Linked DNA regions of Homo sapiens: regions 1, 2, 3 and 5 are each linked to region 4. The links are contacts of gene promoters, found by promoter capture Hi-C in blood cells and fetal thymus (Javierre and others, 2016). All regions are on one chromosome and are shown on one strand. The core of a region is centred on a gene start or on the middle of the fragment in contact, and the rest is flanking DNA. Distances in the headings are between cores, read along the strand shown. Region 1 overlaps USP18 (ubiquitin specific peptidase 18). Region 2 has its middle 15 kb from the start of LINC01634. Region 3 overlaps TUBA8 (tubulin alpha 8). Region 4 holds the start of BID (BH3 interacting domain death agonist). Region 5 holds the start of TUBA8 (tubulin alpha 8).

The links. Contacts are between HindIII fragments. The CHiCAGO score rates a contact against its expected background, and 5 or more counts as called.
Region 1: a fragment that was not itself captured here is called in contact with the fragment with the promoter of BID in region 4 in 3 of 17 cell types (total B cells, activated CD4 T cells and erythroblasts); the score reaches 6.1 in total B cells.
Region 2: a fragment that was not itself captured here is called in contact with the fragment with the promoter of BID in region 4 in 1 of 17 cell types (erythroblasts); the score reaches 6.2 in erythroblasts.
Region 3: a contact is called between a fragment that was not itself captured here and the fragment with the promoter of BID in region 4, in 1 of 17 cell types (M1 macrophages). The highest score is 5.7, in M1 macrophages.
Region 5: a contact is called between the fragment with the promoter of TUBA8 here and the fragment with the promoter of BID in region 4, in 1 of 17 cell types (megakaryocytes). The highest score is 7.4, in megakaryocytes.

What each region holds. Positions count from the first base shown.
Region 1 is chr22:18,151,904-18,154,603 of GRCh38, reverse strand. All of the region lies in intron 1 of USP18 (ubiquitin specific peptidase 18), which reads right to left. Among named protein-coding and RNA genes, the nearest start is that of USP18, 3.1 kb to the right of the region's middle. RefSeq lists an enhancer at 1,765-2,014. The HindIII fragment of the contact is 1,046 bases long and covers 832-1,877 here.
Region 2 is chr22:18,043,144-18,045,843 of GRCh38, reverse strand. No RefSeq gene overlaps it. Among named protein-coding and RNA genes, the nearest start is that of LINC01634, 15 kb to the right of the region's middle. The HindIII fragment of the contact is 245 bases long and covers 1,222-1,466 here.
Region 3 is chr22:18,127,036-18,129,735 of GRCh38, reverse strand. The region is part of intron 4 of TUBA8 (tubulin alpha 8); the gene reads right to left. Among named protein-coding and RNA genes, the nearest start is that of TUBA8, 18 kb to the right of the region's middle. The HindIII fragment of the contact is 6,961 bases long and covers 1-2,700 here.
Region 4 is chr22:17,773,135-17,775,834 of GRCh38, reverse strand. BID (BH3 interacting domain death agonist) reads left to right here and starts at 1,366. Exons shown (of 6, transcript NM_001196.4): 1 at 1,366-1,454. RefSeq lists silencers at 1,238-1,337, 1,358-1,407, 1,428-1,497, 1,528-1,857. The HindIII fragment of the contact is 11,451 bases long and covers 1-2,700 here.
Region 5 is chr22:18,109,507-18,112,206 of GRCh38, reverse strand. TUBA8 (tubulin alpha 8) reads right to left here and starts at 1,398. Exons shown (of 5, transcript NM_018943.3): 1 at 1,339-1,398. The coding sequence starts at 1,341. RefSeq lists a silencer at 1,232-1,621 and an enhancer at 1,702-1,901. The HindIII fragment of the contact is 5,564 bases long and covers 1-2,700 here.

The DNA of each region.
Region 1 (2,700 bases), core at 105-2,604, 380 kb before region 4:
ATAGTGGTGCACGCCTGTGGCCCCAAATACTGAGAAGGGTGAAGGAGGAGGATCACTTGAGGCCAGGAGTTTGAGGCTGCACTGAACTATGATTGTGCCACTACACTCCAGCCTGGGCAACAAATGAGACCTTGTATCTAAATAAATAAATAAGATGAAATAAAATAATAATAATGGGTAACATCGAAGCACTATTTCTTATAAAAGGTGAAAGCCTTTTATATGTACTGTCTTATTTATCCTTACACAGCCATGTGAATTAATTACTGTTATATTTCCATTTGACAGATGAGAAAACTGAGATACAAAGAAGTAAGTGCCTTTCCCACTGGCAAGTGATGGGCCAGATGTAGACAAGCTGGACGGGGTTTAAGTCCAGCTAACATGCTGCTCAGAGTGAGGAATAAACTCAACCAAATCATTGGTGGGAATGTAAATTAGTAGAGCCATTATGGAAAACAGTATGGAGATTCCTTAAAAACCTAAAAATAGATATACCACATGATCTAGTAATGCCACTGCTGAATATATATCCAAAGGAAAGGGAATCAGTATGTTGAAGAGATATTTGCACTCTCATGTTTACTGCAGCACTGCTCATAATACCCGAGATACGGAATCAACCTAAGTGTCTATCAAAAGAGGAATGGATAAAGAACATGTGGACTATATACACAAAATGGGATGTTATTCAGCCATTACAAGAGAATGAAATCCTGTAATTCCCATCAACATGGATGAGCCTGGAGTACATTACGTTAAGTGGAATAACCTAGGCACAGAAAGATAAATACCACATGTTCACACTCATATGTGAAAGCTCAAAAAGCTTATCTCCTAGAAATAGAGAATAGAAAGCCAGGCATGGCAGTTCACACCTGCAATCCCAGCACTTTGGTTGGCTGAGGCAAGAGGATAGCTTGAAGCCAGGAGTTCAAGACCAGTCTAGGCAACATAGCATGTTGCCTAAATAAAATAAAAAATATTTTATTTTCTAAAAATAAAAATAAAATTAGCCTAGCATGGTGGCATGTACTTGTGGTCCCAGCTACTTGGGAGACTGAGGCAGGAGAATCAGTTGAGCCCAGGAATTTGAGGCCACAGTGAGTTATGATCGTGCCACGGCACTCCAGCCTGGGCAACAGGGCAAGACCCTGTCTCCTTTTTTTTTTTTGAGATGGAATTTCACTCTTTTTACCCAGGCTGGAGTGCAGTGGTACAATCTCAGCTCACTGCAACCTCTGCCTCCCGAGTTCAAGCACTTCCCCTGCCTTAGTGTCCCAAATAGTTGGAACTACAGGCATGTGCCACCACGCATGGCTAATTTTTGTATTTTTAGTAGAGACGGGGTTTCACCATGTTGGCCAGGCTGGTCTTGAACTCCTGACCTCAGGTGATCCACCCATCTCGGCCTCCCAAAGTGCTGGGATTACAGGCATGAGCCACCGCGCCCAGCCTGGAATATATTCTTAAATTCATGTTGGATGGCTCAGATAACAACAACCTCTTTTTCTTAGTAAATATTGACTTTCAATAGTTATAAACAGTTGTTCTTCTTACAAGGCCCAGCCTAGGAGGACTCAACTGAAATGATGACAGCAGACAATTCCATCAGCAAGAAAGAGGATTTTGAGCTCATCATTGAGGGAAAGCTGATGAAAGAGAGCAGAGAGGTTCCAGGCTGCATTTTCCAAGATGTTGTCCTCTTCTCCGCCAAGACCTCCCAGATACTTCAGTAGGATATAGCAGTAAAACCTCATGGAGCAGATCATTTGAGCAGGCTCGGTCCCAAAGGGAAACAAAATACAGCAGCCTTTCAGGGTAGATCACACTGGGGAGACAGGGAGGCGGGGCAGCAAGGAAAGGAAAGTGAAGCTTAAAAGGTCTAAGGAGGATGGGGAGGGCAAGGCGAGCAGAGAGACCGCAGCTGAAGTTAGCAGGGGCAATAAGCATCCACCAGAGAAAACAGCCTGGGCGGATTCCAAGGAAGGGGATTTTCAAACTCAACTGCTGACTCAAAAAAAGACCCCCAGGCCAGGCGCGGGGTCTTTGTTTGAGACTCTGTCTCAAACAAAACAAAACAAAAATCCCAAATACTAAACTAACTTAGCTCCCACCCTACCTGAATTTTTTTTTTTTTTTTTGGTTCACGTTCTCTCATGATCTTCCCGAAATGTTATCCTTAAGCTTCGGGGAGAGGTGAGCAACGGAAGGAACTGGCCCAGGCCCACCACTAAAGAAGCCCCAGGACCAATCGGGGTCCTCAGAGAAGCCCCAGAAGAGCCAGGAACAAGCTGCAGAAAACCTGGGGAGGGTGGGGCCTCCACCCAATACTCCACTCACAACTGGACTCTCTGCCAGGAAAGCCAACTCCAACATTTAGATGCCCTAAAAGGAACAAAATTAACCTGCCAGGAACATGATTCAAGCAGCCTCGGTGTCTTCCGACCCACCCCATCATGGCAACCACAATTGTAGACCGCAGTCTCGATGACGTGTTCACATTATTTTGCATTTCTTTTTTCTTTTTTTATTTTTATTTTTATTTTTGAGACGGAGTCTCCCTCTGTCGCCCAGGCTGGAGTGCAGTGGCCGGATCTTGGCTCACTGCAAGCTCCGCCTCCCAGGTTCACGCCATTCTCCTGCCTCAGCCTCCCGAGTAGTTGGGACTACAGGCGCCTGCCGCCACGCCCAGCTAAT
Region 2 (2,700 bases), core at 95-2,594, 270 kb before region 4:
GGAGGTCGAAGCAGGTAGCTCACTTGAGCCCAGGAGTTTGAGACCAGTCTGGACAATATAGTGAGACCCTGTCTCTATAAGAATTAGCAGGGTGTGGTGTTGCACGCCAATGGTCCCAGCTACTCAGGAAGCAGAGGTGGGAGGTGGGAGGATCGCTTAAGCCCGGGAAGTCAAGGCTGCAGTGAGCTGTGATCGCACCACTACACTCCAGCATGGGTAACAGAGCAAGACCCAGGGAAGTACAAATGGCTATTTTAAGAGGATATATGCAGCGCCTTGTGGATCTGGTAAGAAGTCCAACCAGAATATCTAGGTCTCGGGCCTGTGGTAGAACTAAGACTTCAGGTAAGGATTGATGAGGTTGCGGTGGGCCTGGAGAAGTAAAGAAAGAGAGAGGAAGGATGAGGGCACCAAATTGGTTCTACTTCCTCCTGAAGGCCTCCTAGCAGAGGCCATCAGCCAACAGCAGGTGCATTGCATAAACTGGAATGTGACTGGAAGAGATGTCTTAGCCTTGTGCAAAGACTGTGTCTCAGTTATACCGAGCTGATCCTGCTATTCAAATCCTACAGACCTTATTGAACTTCCAGACTCCACCCTCCAGAGGGTCTCCTCCCTCTCCTATACTCCAAAACCCTGAGCTCTTCAGGACTCCATCTGGCCTGTACAGGTGCCCCCCAGGCCCTCCAGAGAGAGAGAGGACAGCATTTGGCTCCTGGGCCCTGGGGTTTCACTCTGAGGAGGTGGGTGGACAGGAGGGTGGGAGCCGGGAAAGAAAGTCGGGAGGGCCTCATCTCCAAGTTAGAGAGTTGGCCTGATGAGGAGAGCGTCGGCGAATGGCGTCTTGCTGTTATTTCTCTGTATCCCTGCTGGGGATGGGAGTTCCTGGCAGCTGGCCCTGGCCCTGGCCTTGGCCTTTGTCTCCCTACACTCTCCTCTTGGCACAGCCAGAGGCTTTCAGTGTTGTGCTTTCAGGGTCACATGGTTTAAGCTTTGCACAGCTGCTGGGGGAAAAAGAGAGAGTGAGGGAGAGACTGAGACAGAGAGCACCCGCTCCATTCTTACCATATATGAGGCTAAGCGATGAGTATCGGCATGACTCAAAGCCCAAGAAAGCAAATCTCTGCCTGACTCTCACCCTTGGCTATGGAACACATTGCCTCTCACCCTATTTCTGGGCTTTTCACACCCAAATCCTCCCCTGCCCTCCACACACAAGCTTCCACTGACCTCCCGTGCACCCTCCCCTGAGTACACACACACTGTCATACCACACAAAAGATGTGTGTGCGTACTTTCTATCAAACCCGTGGAAAGAAAAGCCAACAACTTAATCAACCTAATAACTTTTGCACAACATGGTGGATAAGAGTTTGCTCTGGCAATTCACACACACACACACACACACACACACACACACACACACACGAATGCCCATGCCACGGGTGTTTATCCTTCTTTAAGCTTTTAGAATCTCTGTCCTTGGTCTCTCTCCAGTATAAATTCTTGAGTGCCATCTCCTGTTTTTCCACCAATGCTGCACCTTTCCCATCAGAAAAGTTACCTACTGCGATCAGAATTCTCACACCATGGAGTTTCAGAAGCCAGCCCTCCCGTGTCCCCAGGCCGCCAGTGGTCAGTGTTCCTCCTCCGCCTCTCCCACAGCACCTTGGCCTGTGCTGTGTAGCTTCTGCATGCTTCTATCACTGTTTGTAGCCTCCATCAGCAGCTGCAGCCAGCACCAGCCAATGCAGGTCGGGACCATGGTCTGCCTCATGCTGCTTCAGGCCACCTTGCATTGTCTTCACTAGCTTAACATCACGAGCGGTCACCGGTAATCTGGTCTTACAAAGTATGGTTATGATGCAACATGATTATTTTTTTAAACAAACATACTAAGTCTTAAATATTCAAATAAGGCTTCAAATAATAATGTGATCACCGTCACTGCCATTGGTCTCTAACCTCTCAAGGTCATCAATGGGAAGGCAGTGTTCACTTAGATGAGAATTTTTTTTTTTTTTTGGCAACAGGGTCTTGCTGTATTGCCCAGGCTGGGGTGCCAACACGGCTCACTGCAGCCTCACAATCTCCTGGGCTCAAGCTATCCTCCTGCCTCAGCCTCCCAAGTAGCTGGGAGTACAGCTGTGTGCCATCATGACCAGCTTATTTTTTAAAATTGTTTTGTAGAGATGGGGTTTCACCATGTTGCCCAGGCTGGTCTCAAACTCCTGGGCTCAAGTGAGCTGCCTGCCTCAGCCTCCCAAAGTGCTGGGATTACATGCATGAGTCAACATGCCTGGCCTACATGTGAAATTTTTGATATATTGTTCCCAAGCTAGTATCTTTTTTTTTTTTCCGAGACGAAGTCTCACTGTCTCGCCCAGGCTGGAGTGCAATGGCACCATCTTGGCTCACTGCAACCTCCGCCTCCAGGTTCAAGCGGTTCTCCTGCCTCAGCCTCCCAAGTAGCTGGGATTACAGCTGTGCACCACCATGCCCAGCTATATTTTTGTATTTTTAGTAGAGACGGGGTTTCTCCATGTTGGTCAGGCTGGTCTCAAACTCCTGACCTCAGGTGATCTGCCTGCCTCGGCCTCCCAAAGTGCTGGGATTACAGGCATGTATTATTATTTTATAGGCCCAGTTCTGCTACATCTAAGAAGTTTTGAAACATAAAGATAACCAACAAATATAATA
Region 3 (2,700 bases), core at 83-2,582, 350 kb before region 4:
GCACATCCTCCTGAGGGGCTGGTGTGGGAATGGCAGCCAGCTGTGTGGCAACATGGGTAGCCAGGCAGCCACTGGACCCACAGCAGCCGTCATTCCTCTTAGGCACAGGTGGCATCTTGGAGGTGGAGGTGATACTGGGAGAGGGGCAAAGTGGGGAAGGGAAAGGCAATGTATATGAATTTGGCCACATCACATACATTGCTAGAACTGAGCCGACTGCCATAAACCTTGTGCCTGGGCCAACCTGTTCTCCTCTAAGTGCTAACATCTCTTGACCTGAGTCAAGTGGGGACAAGTACTGTTGGAGAGAATGCAAGAAGATGAAGTTTAGCAGCATCCTCTCCAGGGAACATACTTTTCTTAGCTTATGCTAATGCTACCATAATGATCCTTCAGGACATAACTCCAGAGCTTCTGCTTTAAGGAGAGAGAATGAGGGGACATTTCCGCTTTGTTAATTTCCCCATCACCCACCATGTCTCTCATTCATTCTCTTTTTTCCCCATTCATTCTCCTACTAGCTGGTTGTTTGTTTCCATTTGAAAAAGAAAAAAGAATTTCATTTTTTGGAAGACCTTGACTGGTTTTGCCAGGATGATTAGAACTGTCACATAAAAAATAGGCATAGTCTTGGGGGGAAATTATATATGTAGCTAGAAGGATAGCAGTGAAAAGGAATGCTACACTCCTCACTCAGCAGAACAGCCAGGTCAAAGCCTCAGACCCATGCAGGGCAGCTATGAGGCCAGCACGCAGCTGGTGCCTCACACTTGTAACTCCCGCCAAGAAAACTGAGGCATGCTCATCTCTTCACCTCCAGCAACTGAGACAAACCCTGACACACAATAGGTACCAGTAAAACCTCTGAATGATTGAAAGCATGACTAGGGGCCAGGCTTGGTGGCTCACGCCTGTAATCCCAATGCTTTGAGAGGCTGAGGCAGGTGGATCACCTGAGGTCAGGAGTTCGAGACCAGCCTGGCCAACATGGTGAAACCCCATCTCTACTAAAAATACAAAAATTAGCCAGGCGTGGTGGTGCATGCCTGTAATCCCAGCTACCTGGGAGGCTAAGGCAGGAGAATCACTTGAACCCGGGAGGCAAAGTTTGCAGTGAGCCAAGATTGCACCACTGCACTCCAGCCCGGGCAACAGAGCAAGACTCCATCTCAGGGGAAAAATACAATAAAAAATAAAAAAAGAAATCCTGACTACAGGGCAGTAGTTAATGTGAATGTGGTAGCTGTTATGATGGCAGAATCTGACAAAAGACCATGGGTGGAGTGGCTGAGCTGTTCATGTGCACAGCCAGGCTGCTTGCCTGCCGGTCCAGCTCAGAGGGGTGACTTCTACCATTCAGCATTCCTGGTCCTGGGGCCCCAGGGTCTACCCTCGCTATTTTGTATCTCCCCACTGACTCTCTGAGCCTGGCATTTTCCAGACTGCGGGCACTTGGTTACCACCAGCCACACGGCTTGCTGGTTTTTGCTTACTCCTGGTTAATGGCAATGGAAAATAGCAATCATAGAACAACTATAAAAGTATCTTATTACTCCAAATTGATTAAGATGTGCAGGATAGATATTTTAAGTTTTCAAAATAAATTGGGAGAACACAGCTTTTTGTTAGAGAGAGGCATCATACTCCTCTGGCAACTGGAATAATTTGGTTAACTCTAAAATTAAAATGGCCACAAAATCATGCTGTACAAAGAAGTGTAAAATATCCATTAAAACTAACTTTAGGTTGGAGGCCAGGCGCGGTGGCTCCTGCCTGTAATCCCAGCCGAGACGGGCAGATCACAAGGTTAGGAGATCAAGACCATCCTGGCTAACACGGTGAAACCCCGTCTCTACTAAAAATACAAAAAATTAGCCGGGTGTGGTAGCAGGCGCCTGTAGTCCCAGTTACTCGGGAGGCTGAGGCAGGAGAATGGCGTGAACCCAGGAGGTGGAGCTTGCAGTGAGCCTAGATCGCGCCACTGCACTCCAGCCTTGGTGACAGAGCGACACTCCGTTTCACAAAAAAAAAAAAAAAAAAAAAGTCCGGGCACAGTGGCTCACGCCTGTAATCCCAGCACTTTGGGAGGCCAAGGCGGGCGGATCACGAGGTCAGGAGATCGAGACCATCCTGGCTAACACGGTGAAACCCCATCTCTACTAAACATACAAAAAATTAGCTGGGCGTGGCGGCGGGCGCCTGTAGTCCCAGCTACTTGGGAGGCTGAGGCAGGAGAATGGCGTGAACCTGAGAGGTGGAGCTTGCAGTGAGCCCAGATGGTGCCACTGCACTCCAGCCTGGGTGACAGAGTGAGACTCCGTCTCAAAAAAAAAAAAAAAAACAAAACTAACGTTAGGCAAATTGAACCAAATCATGAACACCAAAAGCACTGTACTTCAGGTGAGTAGATTTGGGCCAATACCAAATCATTACTTGTTGCTCAGTAAACAAAACCAAAGGTGATTAACCAATTAATCAATTTAAAATAGCACCAAACTTTTCTAAAATGGCCTAAACAGACAAAACTTTGACAGCACTTGTGTCTCAACCAAAGCTGAATTCCATTCATGTTACATTTGGTTGAAGTCCCCCTCCCCTTATCATCACATAAAGCCTGAAGCGCCCATGGAATTGCATATCCTTGGTCACCTCCCTCTGCTTCTCTAGTCCTCTCTCCCCTTCCTAAGTCATCAGCTCTCA
Region 4 (2,700 bases), core at 117-2,616:
AGATGACCTGGCCTCAGTCCATGAAGTTTCCCTTTCGTCTTCTGCAGGGCACCGGCCCCTAATGCCATCTGACGGTTTCCCTGCTCACAGGATCTTCCATTTGTTAGCCCCCCAGAGTGCCCAGCCCGAGTGAAGAGCATGCAGGAAACAAGCCCCTGTCCTCGTGGAGGCTACATTCCGAGAGGGGAGGTAGGCAACACACACACAAACGACTCCGTGGTATGTCATGCTGCGATGCTGGCTGTGGAGGAAAATGAAGTGAGGCCTGGTGAAAGCCAGAGGCCATGGGGCTGCCGAGGAGGAACAGGGACAGGGTAGGATTTGCTTAGAGCAGGGCAGGTCGCGTGGGACTCTGCGGGCCACTGAAAGGAACTTGGCTTTTATTCAGAGGATGTTAAAGCGTGAGTGACATCCTCTGACCTTTTATAAAAGAGGCAAGAGTCTAGGGAGCCCGGGTAGAAGTGAGGGCGTCTGGAGGAGCCACAGTGGGCTCAGGGAGTGAGCCCACGCGAGGGCGCAGAGCAACTGGACGCTCCAACAGGGCTGGTGGAAGTGCCGAACGGTGTGCATCACCTTGGAAAGCAGGCAGTTTTTAATACCATGAAGCTCGTCCAGCCCTATGATTCGCATTTCCACTCCTAGGTATCACACTCAAGAGAAGTGAAGACGCCCACAAAGGGCTCTGCAGCAGCACTGCCGGTGAGAGCTGCATCCGGGGATGCATGGACTGGCCTGTCATTCCAGCACCTTGGGAGGCCGAGGTGGGAAGCATCGCTGGAGCCCAGGAGTTCGAGACCAGCCTGAGACCTCCAGAGGTGGAGACCCCCCCCCCACCACCTCCACTAAAAACTGAAAAAGAAATTAGTTGGGTGTGGTGTGCGCCTGTAGTCCCAGCATTATCTATATGTTAAACTGATGTTTTAAATCAGAGTTGATATCCAAATAATTAAAGAATAAACAACAAGCACAGGGACTGGTGAGGGGCTGGGCCAGATTCTCTGCAACCCACATGGCTTCACCCACTTTCCAAACCCCTGGTTCCGTGAGGACCTAGAATGACCACCCCAGACTGTTCCAGAAACAGCCTGGGGATTCTGAATGTTTCCCAGAGAATCATTAGGAATTATCCCAGCGGCGCTGGAGTAAGTGGCCAACTTAAAGTTGGACGACACTGTCTGAAACAGTCGCGTAAGGGGTAAGGGTGGAAAGCCTGGTTCTCACTGCGCTGCCGGCTCCCCGCCCCGCTCCACAGCCCCGCGCCGGCGCGGGCTCCCCGGGTCCCCGCAAGCCGCCGGGGGCGGGCCGGGGCGGGCCGGGGCGGGCCCGGGCGTGGGGGGCCGAAGGAGGAAGCGCGCGGGGCGCCATAAGGAGGAAGCGGGTAGTCGACCGTGTCCGCGCGCCTGGGAGACGCTGCCTCGGCCCGGACGCGCCCGCGCCCCCGCGGCTGGAGGGTGGTGAGTGCACCCGCGCCCCTCCCGGGGTACGCGCCGAGCCCCAGCCCGTGACCCCTGCCTGCCGCCTGCCCCGGCGTGGAGCTCAGGGCCCGCCGCCCGCCCTGGGCCCGACCGCGGTGGGAGCCAGAGGAGGGGAGGCGGGGGGTCAGAGCCCCAGGCCTCAGCAGCGACCTGAGGGCCGGGTCTCTCCCGCCTCCCCTCCGCCCGGGCGCCCTCCTCGGCGCGGCCGGCAGGTCGGTGCTGAGGGTCGGGTCCGCCTCGGAGGCGGGGAAGGCTTTGTTGTGTCCTCTCCACGTGGCCTGGGGATTCAGGGGAGGGGTGCGGGGCGCGGGGAGGGGGAGGGGCCGAGGCCAGCCCCGGAGAGGAGAAAACCCGCGGGCCTGGCCGGGTGCAGGCCACCCTTGCCGGCGGATCGGAATCCCCGCCCACACCGTGGTCTTTCCAGCACCGCAGACACCTGCCGGCTCCTCCCGAGCGGAGCTCAGGGCTGACAAAGCGCGGTCAGAGCGGCCGCTTACTGGGGCTCGCCCGCTCCTTAGAGCACTGGCAATGATGTGCGGATCCTCGCTGCTGCTGCTGGGAAACTGTTGAGTGGCTGAATGACCCCAGGGGACCCTGGGAGAGCTCTGAAGCCCTCAGCCACCAAGTGGCTGGGCTGGCAAGGGTTCATTCATTCATTCAACAAATACGAATGTGCAGCGGTGCTGGGGTCATGATGGCTCGGTGGGCAGCGAGGGGCCGGGCCGGCTGGAGGAGCACAGTGCGGATTCTGTAAGTGGGCTGGGGGCTGGGCCTTCTGCGGCTGGACCGGCCTTCACCTGCAGGCAGGGTTGGGGCAGGTGAGGAGCAGATGGACCCACCCAGAGCTCTTCCACCTTCTCAGGCTTGCACCCCCTTCCTGGAGCCTTATCCACACCCTCAGTCCTCGCTCTCACTGTGGGGGAGCTGCAGAGGATGCGGTTTTTCCACATTCCATCTCCACCCACAGGAGGCTTTGAGATGGGGGGAGCTCTCCTGGGCCTGAATGTGTGCCGTCCTGGGGCCCTGCAGTCCCCTGGGAGTGATGACCGAGACCAGATTCCCTGAGCTGGGGTCTTAAGGGTGTGGGGAGCGCAGAGGGATCCTCTGGCATCAGGAGTTGAGGTAGACAGAGCTCCAGGGAGGCACTGCCGGGAGGACGACCCTGGCCAAGCCTCTGCCTGCGGCCCAGGGTGTGCGTCCCTGCCCCTTCTGCCCCTCTTGCCCA
Region 5 (2,700 bases), core at 149-2,648, 340 kb before region 4:
GAAATTTGAATTATAACCCTCTTCATTTCGCAGGTAAAACAAACACATCCAGAGAGGTTAAGTGACCTTCCTGAAGTCACACAGCTAGCTGCAGAGCCAGGAGTCAAAATTCTGAACTGGCAGCTCCGGGCCCTTTGTGTGGCCTCATACCAGGGTCCTCAGGCAGAAATAGGTTCCTGTGGCCACCCTCCCTAATATTCCCAAGTTCTTTCAGTTCCCAGGGGTGTCTGGGAGCCCGCTAGGAGGAGGGAGGGTGCTGACAAAACTGAAGCTGGAAGGCTAGAGCTCCGGGGGAGCCAGGAGGCCCTGGGCACGGGCCAAACGTAACAGGGCGGGGCGGAGGGGGTTCTCGCCTGCTTTCTGGATCACTGACACCTGGAGCAAGCCTGCCCAGGGAACCCGACCTTGGCCATGACATAGGCTTATTCTGCCCTCACTCTGCCCCCAATCTTTCCAGCCCATCTCCCTACTGCTGAAAGATCAGGGGTCCAGGAGGGATTCCTGGGATTCTGGGCTTTGGGAAAGTGGACTGGGGGCAAATGTTAACCACCAGGGGCACTGGGGGCGGAGAGGGGGACCCTAGAAAGAGGAACTGAGTGTTTGCAGCCGCCCCTCAGTAAGATCCAGGGGCGGGGGCAGGGAAGGGAGCAGCCGCGATCCCCCTAAGCCAGGGTAGGAAACAGGTCGAAGGTCCCCTGGCCTTTGGAAGCAGAGACTTCTTACTCCCAAAGTCCTTCGACTCTGACCGCTGGAAAGACTTGGGAGCTGCTGAGTGCGCCCGGAGGACCCCGCCGCGCTGGGGCTGTGCGTGCAGCAAACCCAAGCCGCTGGCCAGGCTTGCGAGAAAGACCTCCACGCGTGGGGGGACCGTGGCGCCCTAGGTCCTCTGTCACATTCCGGGCCCTGTCACATTAGGCTGGGTTCGGAGACGTGACTGCATCTGGCCCCCCAGTCGCCCCGGCCCAGACCACCCATCCAGAATCCCCGGACTCGCCCTTCTCTCCACTCTGTCCACAGGCTGCCCATCTGGGGACCCCAGAATCTCGCCCCCTTCTCCGTCGGGCTCCCCAGGGCCTCCCTCCCCCTCGTCTGCACGCAAAGCTCCCTTAGGTCCCTTTAAGGAACAACTGGCCCCTGGTCTCTATTTCCCCCATACGATAAAGGGCACCGGGTGTTCCCGCCCGAGGGTGCGGACTCCTCGACCCTGAACTGCCACCCCCAGAAGGCCTTGAGCCCTGCGGCTCCAGGAAGACGGGTCCGTGCGCCTCCGCGTAGACTCGGCTCTCGGTCCTACGCCTGCCGCGCGCCCGCAGCCCGCCTGGCCCCGGGAAGCCTCACCATCGCTGCCGCTGTCCTCGCCCGCGCACCTCTCAGCTGGGCCTGCCCGCCCCGACTGCTCCAGATACAGCCGCCTCCGCCGTTGTGACACACCGGGAGGGGGGGACGCCGGGGACAGGCGCGCCGGGCCCGCAGCTGCCCCCCGGCATCACAGTGCCGGGGAGGGGCGGGCAGGTCACAAAGGCCCCTCCCCGCCCACCCGCGGCTCAAATCTCCGGGTCCTCGGTCCCGCCTCAGCAGCCGGGGGCGCTCGCAGCGGGGACTGCGCCCGCGGGGGAGGCTGCCCTATTACCAAAGCGCACGTGTCCACGTTCCAACACCGCCGGCGAGAGCAGCCTTCGTGACCCCAGCTGCCGGAGAAAGAAATGTAAAATGCAGCCAGGCGAATCGCGCGGGTCTCCCCAAACTTCCGTTCTCCTCCGACCCGCTGGAAAGGCTCCTGACTGGGGTGCAGCTGACCGGAGCGGGCTGCAGCGGGCCCGGGTGCCAAGGTGCCGTCTCAGCTGGGCGCCCTAGGGCCGTGTGTGCTTGGCAAGCTGCAGGGCCTCTGCTCCCAAAGCCTGTGCCTCCTGCCGCCAAGGCCCGCCTGGTTGCTGGAGACGGAAATGAGATGGCATACACAGAGCTCCTGGTACAGGCAGGTGCTGAAGACTGTTCCCGTTTTTACCCTCTCCCCGGATACCTCGCACCTCCACCGGGATTTTCAAATCTCCCCCCTTGATCCCTTCCTACTTTTAAGCCCCAAACGTGTCCAAGTCACATCTCCTATGTAATCCAGAACTCATACCAGGGTTCCCCTGCCTCTGCCCAGTAGTAAGACCCGCCAGATGCTGTTGGTTGCCCCCTGCTCGGGAAGGGGTGGGCACTTGGTAAAAGCCCCTCTTCACACTTTAGATGTTGGCCACGTTGTCACCCTGCCCATCTCCCCTCACTTCCCCCCAGGTGGGTGAGGGGCTGGATGGTCTTTGTTCCTTGTTCTCACTGCTGTTTCTTGTTCTTTCCCTCCAGTGGTCAGTTCCATTCATGTTGAAAGGTGTACCCCAGCCTCTCTCTTCCACTTTCCTCAGCACCAAGCCAACGCAGGCAAATTCATAGGTTTTCCTTAAGACAATACCACTTTAGCCAGACGTGGTAACTCCCCAAGTTTCCAAGCACAGTTAGAGATCTTCCTACCCTTCTGCTCCTAAGACATGCCTGCTTGTGGCCAATAGAGAATGAGAGCAGATTTCTGCTTACCTATGCGGCAATCTGTTCTGTTGGCCACCCATTCATAAACGATAGTACATGTGTCGTAATCATCTTTGCATTTGAGAGAGTACCAAACACAGTGCTTTACCCACTGATACAAACGGTACTTAGTAA